Linked DNA regions of Homo sapiens: region 2 is linked to region 1. Evidence: promoter capture Hi-C in 16 types of primary human blood cells and fetal thymus (Javierre and others, 2016). All regions are on one chromosome and are shown on one strand. The core of a region is centred on a gene start or on the middle of the fragment in contact, and the rest is flanking DNA. Distances in the headings are between cores, read along the strand shown. Region 1 holds the start of HIP1R (huntingtin interacting protein 1 related). Region 2 overlaps ABCB9 (ATP binding cassette subfamily B member 9).

Region 1 (7,383 bases), core at 3,437-5,936:
CAGGGGTCGGGAAGTCAGCGGCCTGCCGGGCATCACCACGAGGGCATCACCATGTGGGCTGATGGGGTGGAACCGAGCAGAGGATGTCACGGGGCGAGACAGCAGTGCGCATGCCCAGGAACAACGAGCTCAACGCCCATGCCATGCTGCGGGCAAATCACTCCTATACACGTAAATGTTGCCCTTTTCTAAAAGCCACCAGGTGATTCTAACACTTGCATTGTCCGGCACGGTAGCCGCTGGCCGGTGCGGGCTGTGAGTATTGGAAAGGTGGTGAGTCCAGACTGAGATCAGCTGTGAGTGTCCAGTGCATACCTATTTCAAAGATTTAGTAGGAGAAAAAGAATGTAAATTCTCCTATTCATAATTTTTGTGGCAATTACATGTTGAAAGGGCTAGCTTTTGGATATACTGGGTTAAATAAAATATGCTATTACAGTTAATCGCACCTGTTTCTGTTGACTTTTCTAGTAGTTACTAGACAATCTAAAAGTACACACGTGGCTTGCCTCTGGTTCCTCCTGGACAACACTGCTCTACTGTGTGCCGGGGCTGAGAAGCCCTCAGTTGTCAATAAATGTTAATCTTGACAGGATTTTGGTTTCACGGGGGATGCTAAGCATGTATGTCACCAACCTGGAAAATTGGACCTATGAACTGTTTCCACATATTGCTGCCCTAGACAGTCCCTGCCCCACAGGAACCCCTTACACCTGGGTAGTTTCATGTCTACAGTTAATGCTCACCCGCCAGACTTGGCTCACTCAGCAGTGGCCAGAGGCCTTGCAGTGTAGTAAAGGGTTTCTCTCATCCTAACCTGAGAGGAATCTTCTGGGCTTGATCTCCATCCTGTGGGCCTGCAGTGGAAACTGAGGCCCAGTGAAGCAGAAAGGTTCACAGATCAGGAAAAGGCAGGACTCACCATTAGCATTTCCAGTACTCCTAACTGAGTCCTTCTTCATGATATGCTTCAAAGATGCTTTCTTCTCTAGATGTTAAACTTTTCAGCCGAGGAAGGGAAGGGAGAAAGACGGTTGGGCCAAGTATCTGCTGAGGCCCTTCTATGCCCTAGGTGCTCTTTCATGTTTACATACTGGATGTATTAGTTCCTTATGGCTGCCATAACAAATCACACAAACTCGCAGTTCTGGAGGTCGGAAGTCTAAAACAGGTCTCACAGGACTAAAAGCAAAGTGTCAGAAAGGCTGTGTTTCCTCCTGGAGGCTCTAGGGAAGAATCCATTTCCTCGCCTTTTCCAGGCTGTGGAGGATGCCCATACTCCTTGGCTAGTGGCTCCTCCCCAGCAGCAGGCAGTGAGTCTTTCTCACATGGACTCAGTCCGACCTCCTCTCCTGCCTCCCTTGTCCACATTTAAAGACCTTTGTGATTACACTGAGCCCACCTGGTAGCCCAGGAGAATCGCCCCATCTCAAGGACCATCTCAGCTGATGAAAAACTCTAATTCCACCTGCAACGCCTTACTAAGTCATTAACGTAGTCACAGGTTCTAGCTGCCACACGGTCTCTCTCTTACACCTTACAACAGCCCTATACGATAGCTGGAACGATCTGTATGGTTTTTTTTTCAGACAAGGACATAGATTTACAAGTTAAGCAACTTGCCAGGGACACAGGCTAGAGCCTAGGTCTATCTACCTACTAGTGCCTTTATGATACCACACCCTCTTTTTAAATGGTACAGGCAGTGTTCAGGTTCCAAATACAGGCATGCTGTATTTTGTAGTATTCTGTATTCAGAAAACAGCAACAAGACAATAAAAGTTTGTCACCTCCATTTTGAAAAGGATTTTTTTTTTTTTTAACCAAAGGGACTAAAGTCATAGGGAAGAAAAGCATACACTGGTTTTCTGGACATTCCCCTGGGATTATACACACACACCATGCAACAATCACAGGCACCAGCTCCCAGCAGGCACATGATCGCCTCTCTTCACACTCCTGAGCGCTAACCCCACAGATATTTGCAAACAGGGTGTGTCCTGTCAAAAAAGCTCACAGGAAAGCAATTATCTTCCTCCTGACCCAGGAGCCCAGGGGAGGAAAGCGAGGCTGGCAGGCTAGTGAATATTTAAATTCTAAGCCAGCCTAGTGCTCCTGCCACAGCACACAGTGCTGTGGTCAATGCAAGACAAGCAGCGTATTACAAAGGAAGCCAGGTCCCTGGACTGCATGTGCTATTTTCTGTCCCGAAGGAGACATGGAAGTAACAACCTCAGCTCTCCAGGTCCTTTTCCACCACGGGACCTGGCTGGCGGCTCACCTGATTATTTCTGGGAACGATCTAATTAAATATTAACCACGTACAAAACCTCATTCTTACATTCCTCAATAAGTCACTGTGAAGACGAGCAAACCCAGACAATGAACTCAAACTCCAACTTTCCAGAAAATGGGGCCCTAGAATAGGTAAGACCTGTGACATTCACCCATTACAAAGTTATTCATTGTTAGTGGCCCTCTTAGCCTCTGAGAAAAAACCAGAGCAAAACAAAACAAAACAATCCACCTTCGGAGAGGTGCCTGTAATCCCAACATCTCGGGAGGCCGAGGTGAGGCGGGTGGATCGCCTGAGGTCAGGAGTTCGAGACCAGCCTGTCCAACATGGTGAAACACCTTCTCTACTGCAAACACAAAAATTAGCCAGGTGTGGTGGCGCACGCTTGTAGTCCCAGCCACTTGGGAGGCTGAGGCAGGAGAATCACTTGAACCCGGGAGGCGGAGGTTGCAGCGAGCTGAGATCATGCCATTGCACTCCAGCCTGGGCAACGAGAGAGACTCTGTCTTTAAAAAAAAAAAAAAAAAATCCACCTTCTTGTGTATCAAACCAACCACTAAAATGTGTGGTCCTGTATCAGAGATTCTCTCTTTGACACTCAGGAAGGTTGCCCTTGACTTCTTATCATTTAAGAGTAAGATCAATGAAGTTGGTCCTTCACATCCCATCTCCTCCATGTAGCAATCAGACCTCTTTATACGTCCTCAAAGGCACGAGAAAAAACTCAGTGAATAAACAAAGTTTCTGACAACATCCAGATATGTCTGCCAATTCAGGTTTTCTCCCTATGATCTACAAGTTCTTGGCACAATTAATTATGTATTGGTGACTTTAAATTTTTTTAAAATGACGGGCTATCCGGGCTGAACCAGTTGATGGTGATGAAGATCACAAGGCTAAATTGGTAATTTGCAGCCACCTGGGTTCCAGCACTTCGCATTTCTAAAGCCTTGATATCCTCAGGATTTATTATCGCTTTCTGGGTCAATCCCAAGCACAAAGGTTAGAAGGTCTCCCTGCGTTCTCTCTCATTTCAAAACGAAAGCTGTTGTAGAGTGCGTGTGCTAACTAGATGTGAAGGCAACCGCAGAAGTCATAGCTCTCTGCAAGGACAAGTGGGACGGAACTTGCAAATAGCCGCCACAAACGCAAATGTCACCAACCTGCTTTAGACAGGAGTGGGAGGGGTCCTCTGGCTTCCTTTATCTCTAGAGTAAAATTTTTCAGCCATTTCAGTCTTGGTTGACTTATTTTGGCAAATAAACAAGTATGCCCCCCTCCACCGCCCATCCCCCAAGCCTGAGAGCACTTCAAGAGTTTGTAAAATAAAAAGCAACAGGAAACCAGAAACGCAGCAACGTCTGCATCGTGGGTCCCCGGCACAAACACAAGTACAAAACGCACACCCGCGCCCTTATTTCATTTCTAACGCCTTCCCAGGATAGGCATCATCTGGAAGAGTTACAAGCGTGGGAGGCGCAGGAAGGGAGCCCCAGGAAGTTTCTGTCTGTCGGGCGCCGGTATTTAATGAGGGGGTGTGCACCTATTTATACGTGGGCAGCGCTCGGGCAAACAAGTCTGGCGACATACGAGAAGCTTTTCACCCAGCAAATAATAGGAGACTGTGCAGCCCTGGGAAACCGCTCACGAGAGAAGGAAGCTGGGAGTTTAAGGAATTTCCTTTAAGGAAATTGCCCGTGGGGGCATCGGTTTCAGGGGGTAGGAGACGGGGGCAGGAGCCGGCAAGGAGCGGCACGGAAGGTCGGGGACCCCAGTCGGGCCGCGCCGGCCCCGGGAGCACCTGGATCCCCAGCCCCCTCGACCCCCGGCGCGCTGGGCTCGCGCACACCCAACCCCGGCCCCATCTCCGTCCCCCGCCGCCTCAGCTCCGGCGCTCCCGGCCCGCGCACACCCTGACCCCGGCCCCCTCAGCCCCGGCGCCTCTGGGCCCGAGCGCCCGGCGGGAGCGGGGAGCGCGGCTTCCGGTTCACCTGCGCGCCGGTCGGCTCGGGCCGCGGAGGCCGGCGGGGGGCGGCAGCGGAGCTCTCGGAGAGCCCGGGCGGACACAGGCCCTGCCCCCGCGCCGTCCCCCGCCCCTGGCCGGCGCCTCCCGGGCCCCAGCCGTTCGCGCGTGAGGGGTCAGGGACGCCGCTTGCCCGCCCGCCCGCCGCCGCCCGCCGCCCGCCGCCCGCCGCCCGCTCGCCTGGGTCTTGTCGAACTGCTCGCGCTCGGCCTCCAGGCTGTGGCCCGGCCTGCGGCTCAGCACCCGCGCCGGCACGTTCTTGATGCTGTTCATCCTGCCGCCGCCGCCCGCTTTTGTCCGGCTCCGTCCGCGCGACTCACAGCCTCACGGTCCGGCAGCCCCAGCCTAGGCACCGCGAGGCCACCGCGCCGCGCCCGGGCCCGCCCGCCGGGGAGGAGCCCGCCTCGCCCCGCCCCCAACTCCAGGGCACGCCCCTCCCCCGCACACCTCCAAACCCGCCCCCCGCGCCCGCAAACGCCTCGCCCGCCCCCAACTCCAGGGCGCGCCCCTCCACCCGCACACCTCCAACCCCACCCCCCGCGATCTCGGGACACGCGCCTCTCCCCGCACATCCCCAACCCCCCATCCCGCGGCGACCCCGGCACACGCCCCGCCCCCCGCACACCTCCAACCCCCACCTCACTCACAAGGTTGGGGCACAGGCCAAACGCCCCCCCAGCTCCTCCCCACCTCTAATCCCCTCCCTAAACCCGGAGGGGAGGGTAGGGGAAGGGGGAGGGGGAACCCCTCCCTCCTCCTTCCACCCAGGGTAGGGACCCCAGCCAATTCCCTCTCCCCACCCCTCCTCCGAACTCACTAAGTCTTGTCTGCACCAGGGCAAGATCTGGTTAATTGGAGAAAATCTGGCCTCCATGAGTCTGGTCGGTGGCAGCACAGATAGACGCTTTTTTTCCTTTTTGGTCTTAATGTATGTGTCAAAAGGCACACAATGACACTCTCCCCTCTTTGTGCAATTCTGACATAGCTGCAGCTGTTATCCATGCGGGGATGCAGGATGCATTTCCAGAGACGCCGCCGGCTCCGCAACCGGACACCTCGCCAGCTCCAGGGACAATGGGGGCTGAGGCCGGGCGCTGTTAGGCTGGCACAGAAGGCAGGCGGATCTGAACAGCAAAGTACACCGAGGAGATGCCGCCAGGGGTGGCGTGAGGCTTTTTAAAAACATTATTATTGGCTTTCCCTTAAAATTACTGGTCACAAGACTGAAGTAAAAAAATAAATAAAAGCCCAGAGTCCTCTCTAAGCGTAGCTCTCAGATGGGTATTGTGTTTCTGCTGTTTCCCTTTCCTATCGGAATGCAGATGTGGAATCATGCATAAAGGTCCCTTGCTTTTGAAGGGAGAGGCACCGCCTGCCTGTAAGGAGGAAAATGACGCCCACGTAATCCTGACCCTTGTCTCCCTAGTGAGACTGTAACCTGTCTGAGGTCAGAGACCCTTTCCTTTCCTTTCCTTTCCTTTCCTTTCCCTTTCCCTTTCCTTTCCTTCCTCCTTCTTTTCTTTCTTTTCTCTCTTTCTCTCTCTTCTTTCTTTCTCTTTCTTTCTTTCTTTTCTTTTCTTCTCTTTCTTTCTTTTCTTTTTTTTTAACCGAGCTTCACTCTTGTTGCCTAGGCTGGAGTGCAATGGCACAATCTCACCTCACCGCAACCTCCGCCTCCTGGGTTCAAGCAATTCTCCTGCCTCAGCCTCCCAAATAGCTGGAATTACAGGCATGTGCCACCACGCCTGGCTAATTTTGTATTTTTAGTAGAGACAGAGTTTCTCCGTGTTGGTCAGGCTGGTCTCGAACTCCCGACCTCAGGTGATCCGCCCGCCTCGGCCTCCCAAAGTGTTGGGATTACAGGCGTGAGCCACCACACCCCGCCAGGGACCCTTTTCTTTAACTGATTCCTCACCCTCCAGCCCAAGAGCTAGAGCTGACCCCAAAAGATAACATTTGCCAAGACTCTCCTGTCACTGCACCAAAAGGAGAAATTAATCCTGTTTTCTCTAATTCCAATCACTAAAAAGCTTCTTTATCAGAATAACGGTAGAATCACAATAGCTGATATGTACTGAATGCTTATTATTTGGCAGGCACTGGGCTAAACCCTTCATATGTAACTTAGTCAACTTAGTTGATAGCTGTGCTCTAATAAAGACCACAGTAAAGGGGCTTTTTGCGGTACTCCAGCTGTTTCTCACACTCCTTTTTCCACACGGAACAAAAGTGGTTCTCCTGTGACCCTTCACGCATATACAGCATCCCTTTTCAACCAGGCAACAGCCCCTGTAGGTCTAGCACATCTGCCACAGAGACTTCCCATTAGCAACTGGCTTTTTAAATAATCACAGAGCCTATTACTGTGCCGGGCACCAGGCTCAGCATCTGTTAAACAGTATCTCACTTATTCTTCTTTAAAGTTGTTGATGAGGCTCGGCACAGTGGCTCACGCCTGTATTCCGAGCACTTTGGGAGGCTGAGGCAGGTGGATCACTTGAGCTCAGGAGTTCGAAACCATTCTGGGCAACATGGTGAAACCCCATCTCTACCAAAAAATACGAAAAACTTAGCTGGCCGTGATGGCGTGCCTGTAGTCCCAGCTACCCAGGAGGCTGAGGTGGGAGGATCACTTAGGCCTGCAAGGCAGAGGTTGCAGTAAGCTGAGATCATGCCACTGCACTCCAGCCTAGACAACAGAGTGAAACCTTCTCTCAAAATAAATAAATAAAAAATAAAGCATCAACAACTTTATTTTTATTTATTTATTTTTTTTGAGACAGGGTCTGGCTTCGTTACCCAGGCCGGAATGCAGTGGCATAATCATAGCTCACTGCAATTTCTGCCTCCTGGGCTCAAGTGATCCTCCCACCTCAGCCTTCTAAGTAGCTGGAACTGGAGGGATGCACTATCATGCCCAGCTAATTTTTTTTTTTTTTTGAGATGGAGTCTCACTCTGCCACCAGGCTGGAGTGCAGTGGCACGATCTTGGCTCACTGCAACCTCTGCCTCCCGGGTTCAAGCAATTCTCCTGCCTCAGCCTCCCAAGTAGCTGGGACTACAG
Region 2 (7,383 bases), core at 2,451-4,950, 120 kb before region 1:
CTGGGATGACCCCTTCCCATTAAACCAGGCAGTTTCTCCTGGCTCATGCTGGGCGGCCCAAAAGTCCCCTCCTTAGGAAGCCACCTTAGATTCTGCCAACTGTGGTAACTTTGTCTGCACCTCAGTTATAGCTTTTATGACATAAAAATCATATGTTCAGGCTGGGTACGGTGGCTCACACCTATAATCCCAGAACTCTGGGGAGCTGAGGCCTGCAGATCACCTGAGGTTAGGAGTTCGAGACTAGCCTGGACAATATGGCAAAACCCCGTCTCTACTAAAACTACAAAAATTAGCTGGGCATGGTGGCAGCCGCCTGTAATCCCAGCTACTCAGAAGGCTGATGCAGGAGGATATCTTGAACCCAGGAGGTGGAGGCTGCAGTTAGCTGGGATTGTGCCACAGCACTCCAGCCTAGGCAACAAAGTGAGACTCCGTCTCAAAAAAAAAAAAAACAAAAAAACAAAAACCCAAAAAACTATGCATTTATGCTGGGCACAGTGGCTCATGCCTACAATGCCAGTACTTTGGGAGTCTGAGGCAGGAGGATCACTTGAGGCCAGGAGTTCAAGACCAGTCTGGCCAACATAGCAAGACCCTGTTATGTATGCATTCACCCTCCTGCCTCCCCTCCCAGGTCCTGAGCCCCTCAGGGGCAGGGGCCAGGTCTGACTCACCCTGGATCCCAGTAGCTGGCACAGAGATGGGCTCACTGAATGAATAAATGAACAAAAGTATGAATGACTGTCATGCCTGTGCAGACAGATGGTGCCCCATGCCATGACCTTGTTTACCCGACCTGCTGGGGCCCTGCCGTCAGCTGCTGTGTGGTCGGGGAATGCAGACATCCTTAAATACTGCTGAGCAGATTTTCCCGGCTTGCAGGATTGCATCAAGAGTCAGGGCGCAGACTCGAGGCTCAGGCTCCCGACTTCACTGATAACTTTAGGCAAGTTATTAACCTGGCCAACGCTCACTTGACCATTCTGAAGTGAGGGCTTTCTTGGGGTACTGTGAGAAAGAAGTGAGAGGAAGCTTGGTGCCTAGCACAAGTAAATACTTAATCAGTGTTAGGGCCAGGTGCAATGCCATGTACCTGTGACCGCAGCTACTTGGGTGGCCAAGGAGGGAGGGTTGCTTTGGCTTAGGAGTTTGAGACCAACCTGGGCAACATAGCGAGACCCCATCTCAAAAAAGACAATTAGGTACTGTGATTATTAATAATTATTTTTCAATCAACAAGCATTCAGCAGTGCCCAGCTTTTCTGTACCCTCAGAATCTTAAAACAAACAAACAAAAACAAAAAACAAAAAACCACCCATTGGGAAATGTTAGTTTTAGGGTTGAGTATCTCTTATTAAATTAAGGTTCTTTAGAGGCCAAGTGCAGCAGCTCACACCTATAATCCCAGCACTTTGGAAGGCTGAGGTGGGCAGATCACTTGAGGTCAGGAGTTCAAGACTAGCTTGGCCAACATGGTGAAACTCCGTCTCTACTAAAAATACAAAAATCAGCCGGGCGTGGTGGCACACGCCTGTAATCCCAGCTGCTCAGAAGGCTGAGGCAGGAGAATTGCTTGAACCTGGGAGGTGGAGGTTGCAGTGAGCTGATATCGTGCCACTGCACTCCAGCCTGGGTGACGGAATGAGACTCTGTCTCAAAAAATAAAAAATAGGCCGGGCACGGTGGCTCACACCTGTAATCTCAGCAAGGGGGGGCAGATCACCTGAGGTCAGGAGTTCGAGACCAGCCTGACCAACATGGAGAAACCCCGTCTCTACTAAAAATACAAAATTAGCTAGGTGTGGTGGCGCATGCCTGTAATCCCAGCTACTCGGGAGGCTGAGGCAGGAGAATCGCTTGAACCCAGGAGGCAGAGGTTGCTGTGAGTGGAGATCGCACCATTGCATCGCAGCCTGGGCAACAAGAGTGAAACTCCGTCTCAAAAAAAATAAAAAAAATACATAAAAAACAAATGGAGTCCTTTTTTTTTTTTTTGAGGCAGGGCCTCCCTCTGTCACCCAGGCTGGATGGAGTACAGTGGAGTGATCACAGCGACTTCAGCCTTGACCTCTCCAGCTCAAGTGATCCTCCCACCTCGGCCTCCCAAAGTGCTGGGATTGCAGGTGTGAGCTACCTTCTGTAGCCTAAGATTCTTTAATATGGATTTCATGGCAAACCAAATGTATAAACTTGGGCAAGTGACTTAATCTCTCTGAGCCTCAGTTTCCTCTTTTGTGTAAAGAATACATTTCCACAAATGGAAGGAATAATTGTACCAAACCTATAGGATTACTGGGTGGCCTTTGAGACTTAAGAAGGTAGGGGAGCAGATATCTGGGGTAAGTGGCTGGGTGTGGTGGCTCACACCTGTAATCCCAGCATTTTGGAAGGCCGAGGCGGGCAGATCACTTGAGGTCAAGAGTTCAAGACCAGCCTGGGCAACATGGTGAAACCCTGTCTCTAATAAAAATATAAAATTTAGGCCAGGTGCGATGGCTCATGCCTGTAATCCCAGCACTTTGGGAGGCCAAGGCAGGTGGATCACGAGGTCAGGAGTTCAAGATCAGCCAGGCCAACATGGTGAAACCCCATCTCTACTAAAAATACAAAAATTAGCCAGGTGCAATGGCAGGTGTCTGTAATCCCAGCTACTCGGGAGGCTGAGGCAGGACAATCACTTGAACCCAGGTGGCAGAGGTTACAGCGAGCTGAAATCGTGCCAATACACTCCAGCCTGGGCGACGGAGTGCGACTCCATCTCAAAATATATATATACATATATAAAATTTAGCCGGGTGTGATGGCGGTCACCTGTAATCTCAGCTACTTGGGAGGCTGAGGCATGAGAATCACTTGAACCCAGGAAGTGGAGGTTGCAGTGAGCTGAGATCATGCCACTGCACTCCAGCCTGGGTAACAGACTGAGACTCCATCTCAAAAAAAAAAAAAAATGTATGTGGTAAGAGCACTCCAGGCAGAAGGACTAGCCCATGCAAAGGTCCTGAGGCAGGAAGGTGCCCAGTTGTTCAAGAGCAGACACCAGTTAGCTGGAGCAGAGGGAGTGAGATGGGGCGGGGAGAAGACAAAGGTCTCTGCTAGCGGCTCAATCATGCAGGTCCTTGTGGGCTATTGTAAAGACTTTGGCTTTTACCATCTCACTGGATGAGAAGGGGGATTTGGACTGTTTTGAGCCAAGGAGCAACAAGATCTGAAGTTAGTTCCAACAGGATCCTGCCTTCTACTGTGTGGACAGGCTGATGTGAGCAAAGTTGAGAGCAGGCTACTGAGATAGTCCCAGTGAGGTTAATGACTTGGACCAGGGTTGGGGCAGTAGAGGCAGTGAAAGTGGTCAGGTTCTGGAAATGGTCTGAGTATTTGCTGGTGCATTGGAGAGTTTCACGTAATTCTTGTGCAGATTCAGCAAGAGAGTTTGCCGGCATGCTTTGCACAGCCCCTGGTACCCAGTAAGGCGATTATTAGCATTGGTGCTTGCTGGAATCAGATATTCCAGAATATTCTGTCACAGCTCATCGTTGCCCTCTTCTTTTCTGTGGGTAAACTGAGGCAGAAACTCAGGCTGGGTGGAACTCTGCAGCCTCAGCTGGAGACCTCGTCTGGCCAAGGACTGTGGGGACACAGGCCCTCTAGGCTGCCACCTCATGGTCCCAGCAGAGGGCACCAGAACTGCACAGAAAGTCTCACTACCCAAGTGTCTGAGCCAGGCCAGACTGTGCTAGCCAGACCTGCCCGGGGTTCATTCACTGACCTTTATTGAGCACCTACTGTATGCCCAGCCCCAAACCTGGCTCTGCTCATGGAAAGAACTTCAGTGGAAACAGGTCCTGGGATGAACAAGGGCCTGGCCTGGCCTGGTGATGCCACTATTTCCTTAAGAGGAGAGTGGACATTCCGGATTATTGTCGGGGGAGTCTCATTTCTGCTGCTGTAACAAAATACCACAGACTGGGTCATTTAGAAACCATAGAAACTGATTTCGTACTGTTCTAGAGGCTGGGAAGTCCCAGATCAAGGTGCCAGCAGGTTTGGTGTCGTGAGGGCCACTCTCTGCTTCCAAGATGGTCCCTCCTTGCTGTGTCCTCTGGAGGGGAAGACTGCTGTGTCCTCACGCTGCAGAAGGTGGAAGGGCGAGAGATGGCAAACCAGGCTTACAAGCCCTTTGAAAAGGGCCCTCATCCCATCCTGGAGAGCTCTGCCCTATCACATTGGCGATTATGTTTCAATATGTAAATTTTGGGAGATGCATTCAGACCACAGGAGGAAGGGAAAAGAAAGAGCCCCCAGGTTGAAAGCCAGTTTAGGTTTGAGTCCCAGCCTTTCCCCTTGCTGTGTGACCTGGAGTAAATTCCTCAGCCTCTGTGAGTCTCCCATTCCACCCCAGGATTGTTGTGAAAACACAGTAAGGCAAGCGGGTAAGAAAGCACCCAGCAAGGTGTCAAGTGCCCCACCAGGAGGGGTGGGGTGGCAATTTCCAGCATTGCTTGGAACCAGAATAGCAACGTCTTCTGAGGTTCCAGAATTTGGACTCTGAACCCATTGAGAAGAATGAAATCAACTTTGGCGTCAATCAGCCACTGATTGCCATGTGGCCTGGACGAGTCATCTCATTCAACTTCACTTTCAGCCGGACGCTGTGACTCAGGCCTGTAACCCCAGCACTTTGGGAAGCTGAGGTGGGTGGATCGCTTGAGCCCAGGAGTTAGAGACCAGCCTGGGCAACCTAGCGAAACCTCGTCTCTACAAAAAAATACAAAAAATTAGCTAGGCCTGGTGGCGTGTGCCTGTAGTCCCGGCTACTCAGGAGTCTGAGGTGGGAAGATCCACTGAGCCCAGGAGGTTGAGGCTGCACTCCAGCCTGGGCGACAGGAGTGAAACCCTGTCTCAAAAAGTTAAAAAAAAAAAAAAAAAGGAAAATATTTTAGAAAAAGAAAAACAAATTAATTTTTCTCATTTGTAAAATGGGGGTGATTCCAGGGCCTGCTCCAAAGGGAATGAAACAAAGTTCAGGAGCGGTGGCTCATACCTATAATCCCAGTACTTTGGGAGGCCAAGGTAGGAGGATTGCTTCAACCCAGGAGGTTGAGACCAGCTTGGGCCACATAGTGAGACCCCTGTCTCTACAAAAAAAAAAAAAAAAAAATTAGCCTGGCATGGTGGCACATGCCTGTATTCCCTACTCAGGAGGCTGAGACAGGAGGATCACCTGAGCCCAGGAGTTTGATGCTGCAGTGAGCTATGATTACACCACTGCACTCCAGCCCGGGGGACACAGCGAGACCCTGTCTCAAAAAACAAGAGAATGAAGCATCCTGCAGGAGCCCTGGCTCGATGCCTGGTAGCCACTATAAATAAAGAAGAACCAGCAGGCTGTGTGGATGCAAGGCCCAGTGCTCCCCTGTTCTCTGAGGAGGGGGGCATTAAGCACCCTGGGGCCCCACGATGGGCAGCAAGAGTTTGCCGAGGGAGGAAAGCCCACCGGTGGAGTGGGCAGAGGGGTTGGTGTGTGGACTTCTGGAGCCTCAGGAGGAAGGGTGCGGGTTCCCCTGGCTGCAGACGTCCCTGAGGCTGCCCTGCCTCCCCCAGGAGAGACCTTCCTGCCCTACTACACGGGCCGCGCCATTGATGGCATCGTCATCCAGAAAAGCATGGATCAGTTCAGCACGGCTGTCGTCATCGTGTGCCTGCTGGCCATTGGCAGGTAGCTGGCTCAACCCCCACGCCCTGCCCCGCACACCCCGACCTGCACCAGGGAGGGAAGGGAGGGCCTGTTCCTAAGGAAGACAGGGGCCAGGGAGGCCCTGGAAATGCCCCTGGTGGGCCTGTCCCTCAGCTGGTCACCCTGGGAACCGGCTTCCACACTGTCTTAGAGCACCCTAGAACCACACCCTCTGGTCCCTGAAAAGGGCTTCAGTCCTCAGGGTTCCCTGCTCACCCTCCCTGGCTGTTTTCCAAGTAGGAATCTGGTCCCAAACAGAACCGGCTTTGTCTGAGCTGTTCTGGAAGGAAGAGGGTCTGGCTGGCACATTTGGGTCTCTTGTCCCACAACTGTCCCCTTTGCCCTCACCTTGAGGGGGGCTCCCACTGGGAATGAGGGGGACCCCGCAGGGATGCCAGCCCTGGAGTGGGGCTGCGGTGGGGCTCCCAGGCCTGCCGGCAGCGGGAGGGGGCAGCCGGGTGTGGTCACTGGTCTGGAAGGACATCGTGCTATAATATCTCTTATCTGCAATTAGCTCATTTGCCGCAGGTATTCGGGGCGGCATTTTTACCCTCATATTTGCCAGACTGAACATTCGCCTTCGAAACTGTCTCTTCCGCTCACTGGTGTCCCAGGAGACAAGCTTCTTTGATGAGAACCGCACAGGTTGGTCCTTCCAGTGCCCTAGGTGTCCTGGGGGCTGGGCCCCACCCCTGTGGGCTTGCCTGGCACTGAGGAATGAAATGGGCGTGTGGGTGGTCTCAGCCCTCTGTCTTCTCCTCCTGCTGTTAGTTCAGGCTGGGAACACCCTGGGCTTGGCCTGTGTCCTGGGAGCTGGCTTGCTCACTGAGGTTTTGGTGTGGGCTGCGGCCTCTGTGGGGCCCAGGCCAGGCCACCCGAGGTCCCTGCAGGAGCCAAGGCCTTGCTTTCCATTGCCCCATGGAAACCACCAGGTCCAGGACTACCCACGCCTGTGGCCGACAGAGACCCTGCTCCCATGGGGGTCAGCAGGTGAGGGCCAGGGGCCACAACGGGGAAGACGATAGAATATCCACCAAGATCCAAGCTCTGAGAGACACCGGCCTGGGTCGAAGCCCTGGTTCCTCCACTCACGAACTTCACCTCTCTGATCCTCTGTTTTCTTGTCTGTAAAATGGGAACACGGATAGTAGCCACCCCATGGGGTCCTTACACAGCTCTTAGCACAATGTCCAACTTAGGTAAGAAGTGTCTGCGCTTTCCTGCCCGCCACCAGCCAGGTTGTTATTTCCCTAGAAGGGAAGAGGAGTTACCCCCTCTGCCAGTGACAGGGAGGAGACATGGGTTTGAAGTCTGGCTCAGTCACGGACAGGCTGTGTGACTCTACGGGGGCCTTCCTGTTCTGAGCCCCAGCCTCCTCCGCTGTACAGCGGGATGTCATGAAGCTTAAGCAAGATGCTGATGACTGGGATTGGCTCAGAGTAGCCCTCGAGGGGTATCTGCTCTTCTCCCCCACCCCCCAACCCCGCCCACAGGTAGGGAGGCCCGGCTTCCCAGTGTCTGTCTCAGAGGCCCCTTAGCATCCCCCACCGCCACCCCCAAGGCCCGGGTTGCTGTGGTGAGAGCTGAGCCGCGTGTGTTCCAGGGGACCTCATCTCCCGCCTGACCTCGGACACCACCATGGTCA

Evidence for each region. The method cuts DNA at HindIII sites, captures the fragments that hold promoters and counts their contacts. A CHiCAGO score of 5 or more calls a contact.
Region 2: a contact is called between a fragment that was not itself captured here and the fragment with the promoter of HIP1R in region 1, in 4 of 17 cell types (endothelial precursors, total B cells, non-activated CD4 T cells and 1 more). The highest score is 6.4, in endothelial precursors.

Annotation. Positions count from the first base shown.
Region 1 is chr12:122,832,760-122,840,142 of GRCh38, reverse strand. It overlaps HIP1R (huntingtin interacting protein 1 related), which reads right to left and starts at 4,686. Exons shown (of 32, transcript NM_003959.3): 1 at 4,500-4,686. The coding sequence starts at 4,592. It overlaps LOC124903040 (a long non-coding RNA gene), which reads left to right and starts at 4,910. Exons shown (of 2, transcript XR_007063501.1): 1 at 4,910-4,969; 2 at 5,305-5,588. RefSeq lists silencers at 4,175-4,374, 4,545-4,784 and an enhancer at 5,035-5,084. The HindIII fragment of the contact is 2,457 bases long and covers 3,895-6,351 here.
Region 2 is chr12:122,948,788-122,956,170 of GRCh38, reverse strand. ABCB9 (ATP binding cassette subfamily B member 9) reads left to right here. Exons shown (of 12, transcript NM_019625.4): 3 at 5,606-5,720; 4 at 6,253-6,383; 5 at 7,342-7,383. Among named protein-coding and RNA genes, the nearest start is that of ABCB9, 14 kb to the left of the region's middle. The HindIII fragment of the contact is 5,325 bases long and covers 1,038-6,362 here.